Linked DNA regions of Homo sapiens: region 1 is linked to region 2. Evidence: promoter capture Hi-C in human tissues and cell types (Jung and others, 2019). All regions are on one chromosome and are shown on one strand. The core of a region is centred on a gene start or on the middle of the fragment in contact, and the rest is flanking DNA. Distances in the headings are between cores, read along the strand shown.

What was found. Contacts are between HindIII fragments. The study calls those that stand out against the background at their distance.
Region 1: a contact is called between a fragment that was not itself captured here and the fragment with the promoter of RGS10 in region 2, in 2 of the 25 tissues and cell types used here (spleen and stomach).

The regions. Positions count from the first base shown.
Region 1 is chr10:119,636,117-119,641,809 of GRCh38, forward strand. It overlaps the pseudogene RPS8P4. Among named protein-coding and RNA genes, the nearest start is that of BAG3, 12 kb to the right of the region's middle. RefSeq lists a silencer at 788-1,011. The HindIII fragment of the contact is 5,300 bases long and covers 1,082-5,693 here.
Region 2 is chr10:119,539,704-119,545,712 of GRCh38, forward strand. It overlaps RGS10 (regulator of G protein signaling 10), which reads right to left and starts at 3,016. Exons shown (of 5, transcript NM_001005339.2): 1 at 2,887-3,016. The coding sequence starts at 2,935. RefSeq lists silencers at 2,469-2,638, 2,689-3,428, 3,439-3,508, 3,559-3,718 and enhancers at 3,929-4,008, 4,271-4,779. The HindIII fragment of the contact is 18,481 bases long and covers 1-6,009 here.

The DNA.
Region 1 (5,693 bases), core at 2,482-4,981, 97 kb after region 2:
TTAGGGAAGGGGCAGGGGCAGTCTGCTGACAGAACTTCTTACCTGGGGAGGTTTGTCTTTGTTCTGTTGAAGACCTTCAACTGATTGGATGAGGCACACCCATACTATGGAGGTCAATCTGCTTTACTTAAAGTCCACAGACCTTTTTCCCGCTTCATAAATCTTTCATTGGAATCAAAGACCACGGATTTAAATGTCAATCTTGGGCTGGGCACGGTGGCTCATGTCTGTAATTCCAGCATTTTGGGAGGCCAAGGCAGGTGGATGGCTTGAGCCCAGGAGTTTGAGACCAGCCTGGGCCAACATAGTAAAACTCTGTCACTACAAAAAAAAAAAAAAAAAAATTAGCCAGGCATGGTGGCGCATGCCTGCAGTCTCAGCTACTTCAGAGGCTGAGGTGGGAGGATCGCTCGAACCCAGGAGGCAGAGGTTGCAGTGAGCCAAGATCATGCCACTGCACTCCAGTCTGGATGACAGAGCAAGACCCTGTTTCAAAAAAAAAAAAAGTCAATTAATGCCATCCAGAAAACGTCTTCACAGAAATATCCAGTATAATGTTTGACTAAACATCTAGGTACTGGGGCCAACTGGACACATAAAATTAACTATCACAGAAGCCTTAACTCCCCAACTAGAGTCTACCATTTTAGAAGGCATGGATCAGCTCTTCCATGTCTTTGAAAGCTTCCATGGAGCCTAGCTGAGGGATTATTGTCAGGAGGTGTTCAAGAAATCCCTGAAGAGGGCTGGGCACAGTGGCTCACGCCTGTAATCCCAGCACTCTGGGAGGCCGAGGTAGGCGGATCATGAGGTCAGACCAGCCTGACGAACATGGCGAAACCCCGTCTCTACTAAAAATACAAAAATTAGCCAGGCGTGGTGGTGCATGCCTGTACTCCCAGCTACTTGGGAGGCTGAGGCAGAAGAATTGCTTGAACTCAGGAAGCGGAGGTTGCAATGAGCTGAGATCATGCCACTGCACTCCAGCCTGGGCAACAGAGCAAGACTCCTTCTCGAAAAAAAAAAAAAAAAAGAAATCTCGAAGCATATAAGAATAGAAGAATGAGATTTAACAGGCTCTCTGGAAGCAACTTTGTGCACCTTCTGGAAACAATAGAAGACATGTACCGGTACCTACTTAAACCTCAGAGTGCAATTCACATGGTGGCAGAGATCCCCAAAGCACAACCCTGATTCTTTCTCCATCCTGAAAACACTGCCCCACACCTTCTAAGACAGTAACGGATTTAGATAGAAATGACTGTCCATTTGGGTTTTAACTTAGCACAGCCCTAGCCAGTGAAGAAAAGACAAAAGAACAAGGCAGAAGAATATTGTGGCCTTGGAAGAAATTCCTGACACTGGTCTCTGACCATCATTTTATGACATGTGTACCTGTTTCAATCTTCATCTTCCTCTCAGCCTATTAAGTCATGCAGCGAGCTCCTACCTCTCACTTCCTTCTATCCCCGACCAAGCTTAAATCAGCCTCAGAGGCTGGAGATAAACCAGGCTCAGAGGAGGGGCCTGGTGGTTTCTCAGTCAATTTGCATTCCAAGCTCAAATTTTCATTTCTAAACCTACAATTTCATTTCCAGGCTTTCCCTTGGTTCCAGAGCTGGCTGCTGCTTAGGCGAGAGTGGGAGGGGGGGGCCTCAGTCAGAAATCTCAAGCAACTGGACCAGAGGTAGAATGCCTCAGGCCATTTTTCAATGCCAGTCCCCATTGTTATGGGTCCCACATCGACCTGGTGCTCTTGTTTAACCCCTTTTGCATCTGTAAAAATCATTTTCATTATCCCTTAGTCCCAGTGGAGAAACAGGCAAAGGATAGGTTCAGACTGTTCGCAGAAGAGAATTCCAAATGTCTCTGAACACATGAAAAGATGCTCAACAGGGGCGAAGTGCAGTGGCTCACGCCTGTAATCCCAGCACTTTGGGAGGCCGAGGTGGGCGGATCACGAGGTCAGGAGTTCAAGACCAGTCTGGCCAACATGGTGAAACCCCGTCTCTGGTAAAAATACAAAAATGAGCCAGGAGTGGTGGTGGGTGCCTGTAATCCCAGCTACTTGGGAGGCCGAGGCAGGAGAATCGCTTGAAACCACAAGGCGGAGGTTACAGTGAGCCGAGATCGCACTGTACTCCAGCCTGGGCAACAAGAGTAAAACTCTGTCTCAAAAAAAAAAAAAAGAAAAAAAAGAAAAGATGCTCAATTACACTCATCATAATAGAAATTCAAATTAAAAGCATAAGGGGAATATATCAGATTGGCAAAGATCAGAACATTAGCTAACACGGTCCGGTAAGATCATGGGGCCTCTTTCCAGCCAGCGCCGAGTGATGGGCATCTCTCAGGACAACTGGCACAAGCGCCGCAAGACTGGCAGCAAGAGAAAGCCCTACGACAAGAAGCGGAAGTATGAGTTGGGGCACCTGGCTGCCAACACCAAGATTGGCCCCCACCACATCCACACAGTCCGTGTGCGGGGAGGTAACAATAAATACGGTGCCCTGAGGCGGGACATGGGGAATTTCTCCTGGGGTTCAGAGTGTTGTACTCGCAAAACAAGGATCACTGATGTTGTCTACGATGCGCCCAATAGCAAGCTGGTCCGTACCAAGACCCTGGTGGAGAACTGCTTCGTGCTCACTGACAGCACACCGTACCACCAGTGGTATGAGTCCCACTATGCGCTGCCCCTGGGCTGCAAGAAGGGAGCCAAACTGACTCCTGAGGAAGAAAAGACTTTAAACAAAAAACGATCTAAAAAAATTCAGAAGAAATACGATGAAAGGGAAAAGAATGCCAAAATCAGCCGTCTCCTGGGGGAGCAGTTCCAGCAGGGCAAGCTTCTTGCATGCGTCGCTTCAAGGCTGGGACAGTGTGGCCAAGCCCATGTCTATGTGCCAGGGGGCAAGGAGATGGAGTTCTATCTTAGGAAAATCAAGGCCCGGAAAGGCAAATAAATCCTCATCCTTTCTGTCTTTGCCCATGGAATAAAGGTGTCTATTGTTCTGTGGCAAAAAAAAAAAAAAAAAAAAAAAAAGTCATGGGGAACGTGCACTCTGAACGCTACTGGTGCGAGGCTGACCTTCCCTGACCTCCTTGGAGACAAATTTGGCAAAATAACTTAAATTTTAAAACGCATTGGCCTGATGATGGAGCACTTCCACTTCCAGGTATTGATAGACCTACTCGTACTTTCTTGCAAAATGACCTGTGCACAAGAAAATACACTGAAGGCCAGGCACGGTGGCTCATGCCTGTAGTCCCAGCACTTTGGGAGGCTGAGGCAGGTGGATCATTTGAGGTCAGGAGTTTGAGACCAGCCTGGCCAATGGTGAAATCCCATCTCTACTAAAAATACAAAAAAATAAGCCAGGCATGGTGGTGCACGCCTGTAATCCCAGCTACTTGGGAGGCTGAGGCAGGAGAATCACTTGAACCCAGGAGGTGGAGGTTGCAGTGAGCCGAGATCATGCCATGCACTCCAGCCTGGGTAACAGAGTGAGACCCTGTCTGTCTGTCTCTGTCTCAATCTCTCTCTCTCTTTCTGTCTCTCTCTCTCTCTCTCTCTCTCTCTATATATATATATACATATATACACACACACACACACACACAATGCAGCATTGTTTGTAATAGCAGAAGATTGGAAACTATCTAAATATCTATTAATAGGAGACCAGTTCAATAAATTAGGAAGTACTGTACAGTCACTTAAAGGAGTAAAGAGGCTCTGTGTGGAGTGATATGGAAAATTTCACAGGAACATTGTTAAGTAAAAAGAGGAAGGTGAATGCCAGTGCACATGGCTATCATTTTACGAGTAGGAAGAACGTGCACATATATGTTGGTAAATGAATGGGAGACCCCCTGGAAAAACACCCAGTAAGCTGGAGACATTGGTTGCCTCTAGAGCAGGGAACTGGGAAGCTGGGGAGCATAGAGGAAGGGAAGTTTCTTTTTCTTTTCTTTTCTTTTTTTTTTTTTTTGAGACAGAGTCTTGCTCTGTGACCCAAGTTAGAGTGCAGTAGCATGATCTCGGCTGACTGCAACCTCCGCCTCCTGGGTTCAAGTGATTCTCCTGCCTCAGCCTCCCAATGAGCTGGGATTATAGGTGCCACCATGCTGGGCTAGTTTTTTGTGTTTTTTTTTTGTTTTTTTTTTTTTTGTATTTTTAGTAGAGACGGGGTTTCACCATGTTGGCCAGGTTGGTCTTGAACTTCTGACCTCAGGCAATCAGCCCACCTCGGCCTCCCAAAGTGCAGGGATTACAAGTGTGAGCCACTGAGACTAGCCGGGAGGTTTATTTTTCATCGAGTACCTGTTATGGGTTGAATTGTGAACCTCCCCCACCCCCGCCAAGTTATATGTTGAAGTCCTACCTCAGGACCTCAAAATGTGAGTGTATTTGGAAATAGTGTCATTGCAGATGTAATTAGTTAAGATGAGGTCATACTGGAGTAGGGTGGGCCCCTAATGTCCTTGTTGAAAAGGGAGAATTTGAGGCTGGGTGCAGTGGCGCATGCCTGTAATCTTAGCACTTTGGGAGGCTGAGACAGGAGAATCACTTGAGCCTAGGAGTTCAAAACCAACCTTGGCAACACAGTGAGACCCCATCTCTATATAAAAAAGAAAAAAGAAAAGGAGGCGGCCGGGTGTGGTGGCTCATGCCTCTAATTCCAGCACTTTTGGAGGTCGAGGCGGGGGATCATCTGAGGTCAGGGGTTTGAGACCAGCCTGGCCAATATGGCAAAATTCTGTCTCTACTAAAAATACAAAAATTAGCCAGGCATGGTGGCAGGTGCCTGTAATCCCAGCTACTGGGGAGGCTGAGGCACAAGAATTGCTTGAACGTAGGAGGCAGAGGTTGCAGCGAGCCGAGATCATGCCACTGCACTCCAGCCTGGGCAACAGCGCGAGACTCTGTCCCAAAAAAAAAAAAAAAGGGAGGAATTTGGACCCAGGCAGTCATACAGGAAGAATGCCATGTGAAAATGAAAGCAGAGATCAGCATGATGCCCAGCAAACTACTAGAAGCTAGGTGAGAGGCATGGAACAGAGTTTTCCCTTGCAGCCCTTAGAAGGCTCCAACCTTGCTGACACCTTGACTTGGACTTCTACAGTCCAGACCTGAGACAATGCATGTCTGTTGTTCTAAGCCACTTAGTTTGTGGTACTTTGTCCCAACAGCCCTAGTGAACTAATGCAGTCTCCTTTGGCACCTGGAGTTCTGTATCATGTGTATACTACTGATTATTGATTTAAAACTTTTTTCAACACAAATGTCTCCCGGAAGCCTTCCCAGATTCACTAGGCTGAGTTAGTTGCTCTGTCTTTTCGGCTCCCACAGCATTTTATCTGTATCTCTGCAATAGCACTTACCACGTTGTAATGTAACTTAACTCTTCACAGGGTTCTTGACTCCACAAAATCATTAACTCCTGAGCACAGAGGCTGAGCCTGTTTCATTCATCATTGTAATTCCAGAGACTGGCATCAAATGCTTGTTGGAGTGAATAAACAAATGGGTAACCAGACATTTTTCACTTCCCTCCTACATTCGTATCATTATTTATTGGTTTTTGGCTTGACAAGCTATCCATTCATTCATGTTTAGTCAGGGTGATATAATTGAAAACTGATCTTAAAGAAGAGGTCAGGAATGAAGGTGGTGACAGAGCCATGCT
Region 2 (6,009 bases), core at 1,766-4,265:
ACCTCAGGAAGAATAAGGAAATCCCACTCTGAACCTTGGAAGGAGGGGTTAGGAACTCAAAATCCTCCGCGGAAAGACAGTGTCTCCAGTGAGATTTTGCTGAAAGGTAGGAAAAGTGTAAAATAGAAGGTACTGGGGGAGGCAGGACCACAGCCAGGTCCAAATCAGGGGTCCTGCAGGAGCAGCTCTGGCTTTTGTGGAGCCTGAAGTTTATACAATTTGAGGATCCTCTTTAAGAAAAATAATTCAAAATTACAAAAAAAAAAAAAAAATTAAGTACAGGGTCCCAAAAATCACTTGGCTGTCTTCTCAGTACCTCGGCCCACAGGCCCAAATGACCCCTTTCTCACTAGGCTTCTTCTTTTCACACGGCTGGGTGGTGATGACCAGTCAGGCAAGAACTTATGTTATTTTCCATAATGGGGAAAGACCCTACACCTACAATTCCAAAGAAAATCAGGCTATTGGAGTGGAGGCATCCAGTACCAATCCATGATGTTTAGTGGCTGATCTTCCTTCCTTCCTTCCTTTTTTCTTCCTTCCTCCCTTCCTTCCTTCTTTCCTTTTCTTTGGATCTCACTCTGTCACCCAGGGTGAAGTGCAGTGGCACGATCTAAGCTCACTGTAGCCTCAACCTCCCAGGCTCAAGCCATCCTCTCACTTCAGCCGTCTAAGGAGCTGGGACTACAGGCACGCATCACCATGCCTGGCTAATTTTTTAATTTTTTTGTAGAGACGGGGTTTTGCCATGTTTCCCAGGCTTATCTGGAACTCCTGGGCTCAAGCAATCCTCCTGCCTCAGCCTCCCAAAGTGCTGGGATCACAGGTGTGAGCCACTGAGCCCGGCCTGAGACCGACCTTTCTGTCAGTGATGTAACCACATTTTATGAGGTTTAAAATTTGTTGCCCTGAAATAATTTGTTCCCTAAAACTGCCTTCAGCCTTTTTGGGGTGCAACCTGGCTACACGCAAAATCACCCCAAATCCATGTATCTCCCAGGATACAATGGTTCTATCTGTCAGTCTTCAACCCAAAAGCAATCTAAAGTAATAAGTAACGCGTACAGGGCTATTCATAGCAGCTCTATTTATAACAGGCAAAAGGGAGAAAAGCTACTAATTATTACACTTTTATTATGTGCCACACATTGTACTAGGGGCTTCATATGGTTTTGAGTATTTAATCCCATAACCCTATGAAACCCACTTTGCAGGTGGAGAAAGGTGCTGGAACATCAGCTCTCCTGAGTCAAAATGAAGCCTTCATTTTTAGCTTTGTTGATTTTCATGATGTAAATATCCCATCATAACTACTTTCAAGCTACCTATGGTTTACAACCAGTTTCCAAACTTTTTGAATATTTGGCAACTGGCTCTTGCAAGCCAGTTTGAGCCAGCTCCAGCACATCACTGAAACGGAGGCACAGAGAGATCAAGTAATTTGCCCAGTGTTGCTGAATGACAGAGTCAAGGTTAGAACCAAGAGTTTAATTCGAGTCCAGGCTCTGAGCAGCGCTCCACAGGCCTGTGCCAACCATAGAGACTGGTTAACATTAACACCCACAAGGGAATTCTTTGACTCACATGCAACACAAAAAGGTTTACATGACCACTAACGCTAACGGAGCACTTAGTACTTGCCGGGCAACAATGTAAGATCATTACAACAACCCTATGAAATCCTACATATTAAATACAATAATTTGCAAAACCTGATGGATGGAAGACAGGTTCCAATTAAGTACTTTAAAAGGCGAGTAGCTACTGTTATTCCCACTGTGCAGAACCTCATTCTGCAGAAAGGTCCCACGGCTGGTGAATATGGCGAAGGTGAGATTCGGATCCAGCCAGTCTGGTCCCAGTCTCTAAACCACAATGTCCCTCATAAAATACCAGGAGCAGAAAGGAAATGCACCAACGCGTTGGGACTCTGAGCGCCAAGCAGAAGTGAATCTTGGCGTGGGAAGCCCGGCAAAGCCCCCGAACTTCAGAGTCAGGGGAACCTGGGTTTGAAAGCCTCCCCATCACCTGCGGAGTGTGACTGGGGCAAGTTACCTAACAGCGCCTGGCTTCCGCTCCCTCCTCACTCACCGGGTTGTCCTAGGGGTGAAGGGAGAGTTCACCCAACGCGGTGGACAAAGCCCTTGGCGCACCCAAAGGCCTGCACAGGTCGTAGCTATTGTGATGAGCAAAAGGGTGGAAGGACCGGAATCAAGGGCACGGCTCCACCTTCACCGTGGGGTCTTTGGCCTATCAAGTTGCCCGAGATCGTGGCTCAGGCTGGCCCAAAGTGACGGCCAAGGCGAATCCTTCGTAACGTCAGAACTTCGCTGGCTCGGACCGCAGAAGTGCCCTTCTCCATCCTGGGGTTCCGCCACCCTCGCGATCCCACCTTTTGGCTCCTCGCGGCAGAAGCGAAGGCCCCCGACGCCCCAGGCCCAGGGGCCCAGTCGGATGCCCGGGTCCAGCCGTGCTCCCCCGGGCGCTCGGCATCCTTCCACCCACGCCCGCAGCGGAGGCGGAGAGCGTCACGGAGGGAGAAGCCCGCGCGCCGTTCCGCTTTCGGAATCTGGAGCCCCATGTCACCTCCAAAGTTTGGAGATTTGGGGCGCTCCTTTTTCTCCCAGACCATCACTAAAAAGAAAACTGCGGCTGTTCCTCTTTCAGCCAAACTTCCTCCCCGGGGCTCCCGGAGGAGCTCTGCGCTCCCGTCGCGGCTGGGACCGCGAAGGTGCGGTACCCAGCGGGGAGAGGTGGTGCGGTCGGCCGGGGCTCCAGTCTGGGAGGTACCACCGAGCCGCGCCCGAGCACAAGAGGGAGGGCAGGAGGCCGGGCGGGCGAAACGGCGCCCCGACCCCGAGCCCGCGGGCCCCCGAAGCCGCTTACCTGACGGCGGCCGCTTCCTGCTCAGCCGGCTCACGGCGCGGTTGAACATCGCCGCGGGCGCCCGAGGAGGAAGAAGGAGCAGCCCGGCGGCGCGGCGGCTGAGCCGGAGGAAGGCGAGGAGGAGGAGGAGGGCGAGGAGGAGGAGGAGGAGGGCAAGGAGGAGGAGCGGGCTCAGCACCGCCCCGGAGCTCTAGGTCCCCGCCCGCCGCCCTCCTCCTAGCCAGGCGCCGCGTGGCGCGCTCAGTGCGCCCTGCCCGCCCCCGCTGGTGAGGACTCGCGGTTCCGCTCCGGGGTGCCCGGGCGGGGCAGGGCAGGGCAGCCCCGGGTGACCCCCGATCGCCCAGAGTGTGCCCCGCGCCTGGGATAAGGTGCACTGGCCCAGAGGGAGCCCGCGCCGCCGGGAACTTAGTAGCCCCGCGGAGGCGGTTAGCGCGTCCCGGGGTCCCTGGCCCTCGCCTGAGATGCCGCCCCGGCCCGCCCCGCCCAGCTTCAAGCTCCCGGGCCCATCGCGGTCTCCCGCCTTCTCCCTGTAGCCCCGGAGAAACTGGCACGGCGCCGCGGGCGCACCGCGCTTCGGGGCTCTCAGCGAGCCTTCGCAGGTGGCGGGCGGGGTCCCCTCCCGGGTCACAGGCTGGGAAGCCTAGGCCTCGCGGTTCTGCAGAGTCCGGGCGCGGCCCAGCCTGTGGCCTTTGCCTCCTCGTCACCAGGATCCCCGCCTGCTGGGGCCTGGCTGCTCCTCGACTTCGTGGGCGCTGCGCCTTCCCGCCCCGCGAATGCGGGTGGGGCGTCCCCAGGGCCCGTGCGCTGAGCTAGCCGAGCCGCCGCGGGTGGGCGCCCTCTCCCCGGCCGTGCCGCGCGGGCGCCAGGACTCGGGGAGATCTGAGAGGATTCTGCAGGAACCCCCCGGTTCCTGCGCCGGGCGGTGCTCTGTCCCGCACACCGCGCTCTCGGGACACTTCTCTAACTTTGGGGACACGTGGGCACTGCCTCTGGCAGGGCCTTCAGGCTCCACGACCGGGACCACTCAAGCCCCCACGGCGTCACCTGCTGGGCGCTGCGCGCTCTACGGTCTCCTATTATTTCATTTCTTCTATGGAGCAGCCCCAGAGGGGATGTCATTAGCCCCCATTTTCTTGAACATTTGGTTTGCAAGAAATTGTCTTTCTGGCGAGTTTTATTTTTCTCCTTGTGTATCTGGCTTTGTCTCTAAATTGGTCTTTATTTTTAGCTGTACTAATTGCTATTTTTCCAAACCGTTCCCCAGTCGCCCTCCCCCCATCCCCCCGTCCTTTTGCAGTTTTTTTCACTACTTGGCACTTTCTTTTGTATCTTCTATTCTGAGCTTCCAGTTCTGCTCACTTTCCCTCTCCCTCTACCCACCCCACAGCCCCAGTTGCACCCCAAGTGTGGCCGGTGGTTGCTTGTTGTTTCCCTCCCCGCTATTCCCCCTCCAAAAGTCGTTTTCCTCCGAGCATTTCCAAGCACTCTCCCCCTTCTGCTGCCAAAAGAGGATTTCCAGGCTCCTGAAGCGAACGCGGTGACCAAGAACAGGGTTAGACCCAGCGCGGGGAGTTCTGCTTTTAAAACTGCTGTTGTTGGCCTACTCCGGGCCCAGACAAACTTCCATCTCATTGTAATGGGATCAAGCTGTGATACTTAACTATAGGCAAGAGTTTCACCTTTCGTAAGAGCGGGATTTTAAATGCTGGCAGAGTCCTGGATCCAAGTGAGGTCACTGCGTTCTTAAAACAATAAGGGAATTGGTGCAACGCACTCACCCAGAAAACTTCCCCGAGACCAAATTACAAGTAATCCTAAGACAGGAAATAAGCACACTGGCACACAGGGGTAAAAGTTAGGCACAGCAGCTCAGTGTTTTGCTAGTTGCCAAGTCCACCCTAGCGTGTCCTGAAAAACACTGGTGTGGCTTAAGACATGCTATGAATCCCTCCTGAGCTAAGAACCCCAGGCATCTCTTAAATAAAGGGAAAATATAACAGCCTTAAATCACTTTTACTGTCCTGTTAGCACATCAGAGAGTAAGTACAAAAATTAAGATGCATAGTTAGGGCCAGGCGCTGTGGCTCACGTCTGTAATCCCAGCACTTTGGGAGGCAGAGGCAGGCGGATTACCTGAGGTCAGGAGTTCAAGACCAGCCTGGCTAACATGGTGAAGCCCCATCTGTACTAAAAATACAAAAATTAGCCAGGCCTGGTGGCAGGTGCCTGTAATCCCAGCTACTCAGGAGGCTGACACAGAAGAATCACTTGAGCCTGGGAGGAGGAGGTTGCAGTGAGCCAAGATCTGAAGGAGGAGGTTGCAGTGAGCTGAGATCTCACCACTGCACTCCAGCCTGGGCCACAGAGCAAGACTCTGTCTCCAAAAAAAGGAAAAAAAGGCCGGGTGCGGTGGTTCACACCTGTAATCCCAGCACTTTGGGAGGCCAAGGCGGGCGGATCACCTGAGGTCGGGAGTTCGAGACCAGCCTGACGAACATGGTGAAACCTCATCTCTACTAAAAATACAAAATTAGCCAGGCGCGGTGGCAGGCATCTGTAATCCCAGCTACTCAGGAGGCTGAGGCAGGAGAATCGCTTGAACCCGGGAGGCAGAGTTTGCAGTGAACTGAGATCGAGCCATTGCACTCCAGCCTGGGTGACTGAGCAAGACTCCATCTCAAAAAAAAAAAAAAAAAAAATGCATGGTTAACGTTTAAGTGCACAGTTTAAAATTTTTGCCTGGGACATTGAAATTGCTATAAATACCTGTTTTAAGTGTCTGAAGGTTCAAAAGCCAGTTTTCAAAGTGTATTGTGCAAAAGACCACGTATAAAAGTATAAAGCCTCCTAACTCCTAAAACTCGCCAAATGCACACACACATACACACACACACTCACACACACACACACACACACACACACGATTAAGTTCCAACCGTGGTTTGCATTGGATTGAAGGTGCTCACCATCCCAATGGCATTTTTCCTGTAATTCCAGCATGCACTTTCTGAAGCTTTTTTTTTTTTTTTTTTTTTTTTTTGAGACAGAGGTTTCACTATGTTGTCCAGGCTGATTTCTGACTTCTGGGCTCTCAAGTGATCCTCCCTCCTTAGCCTCCTAAGT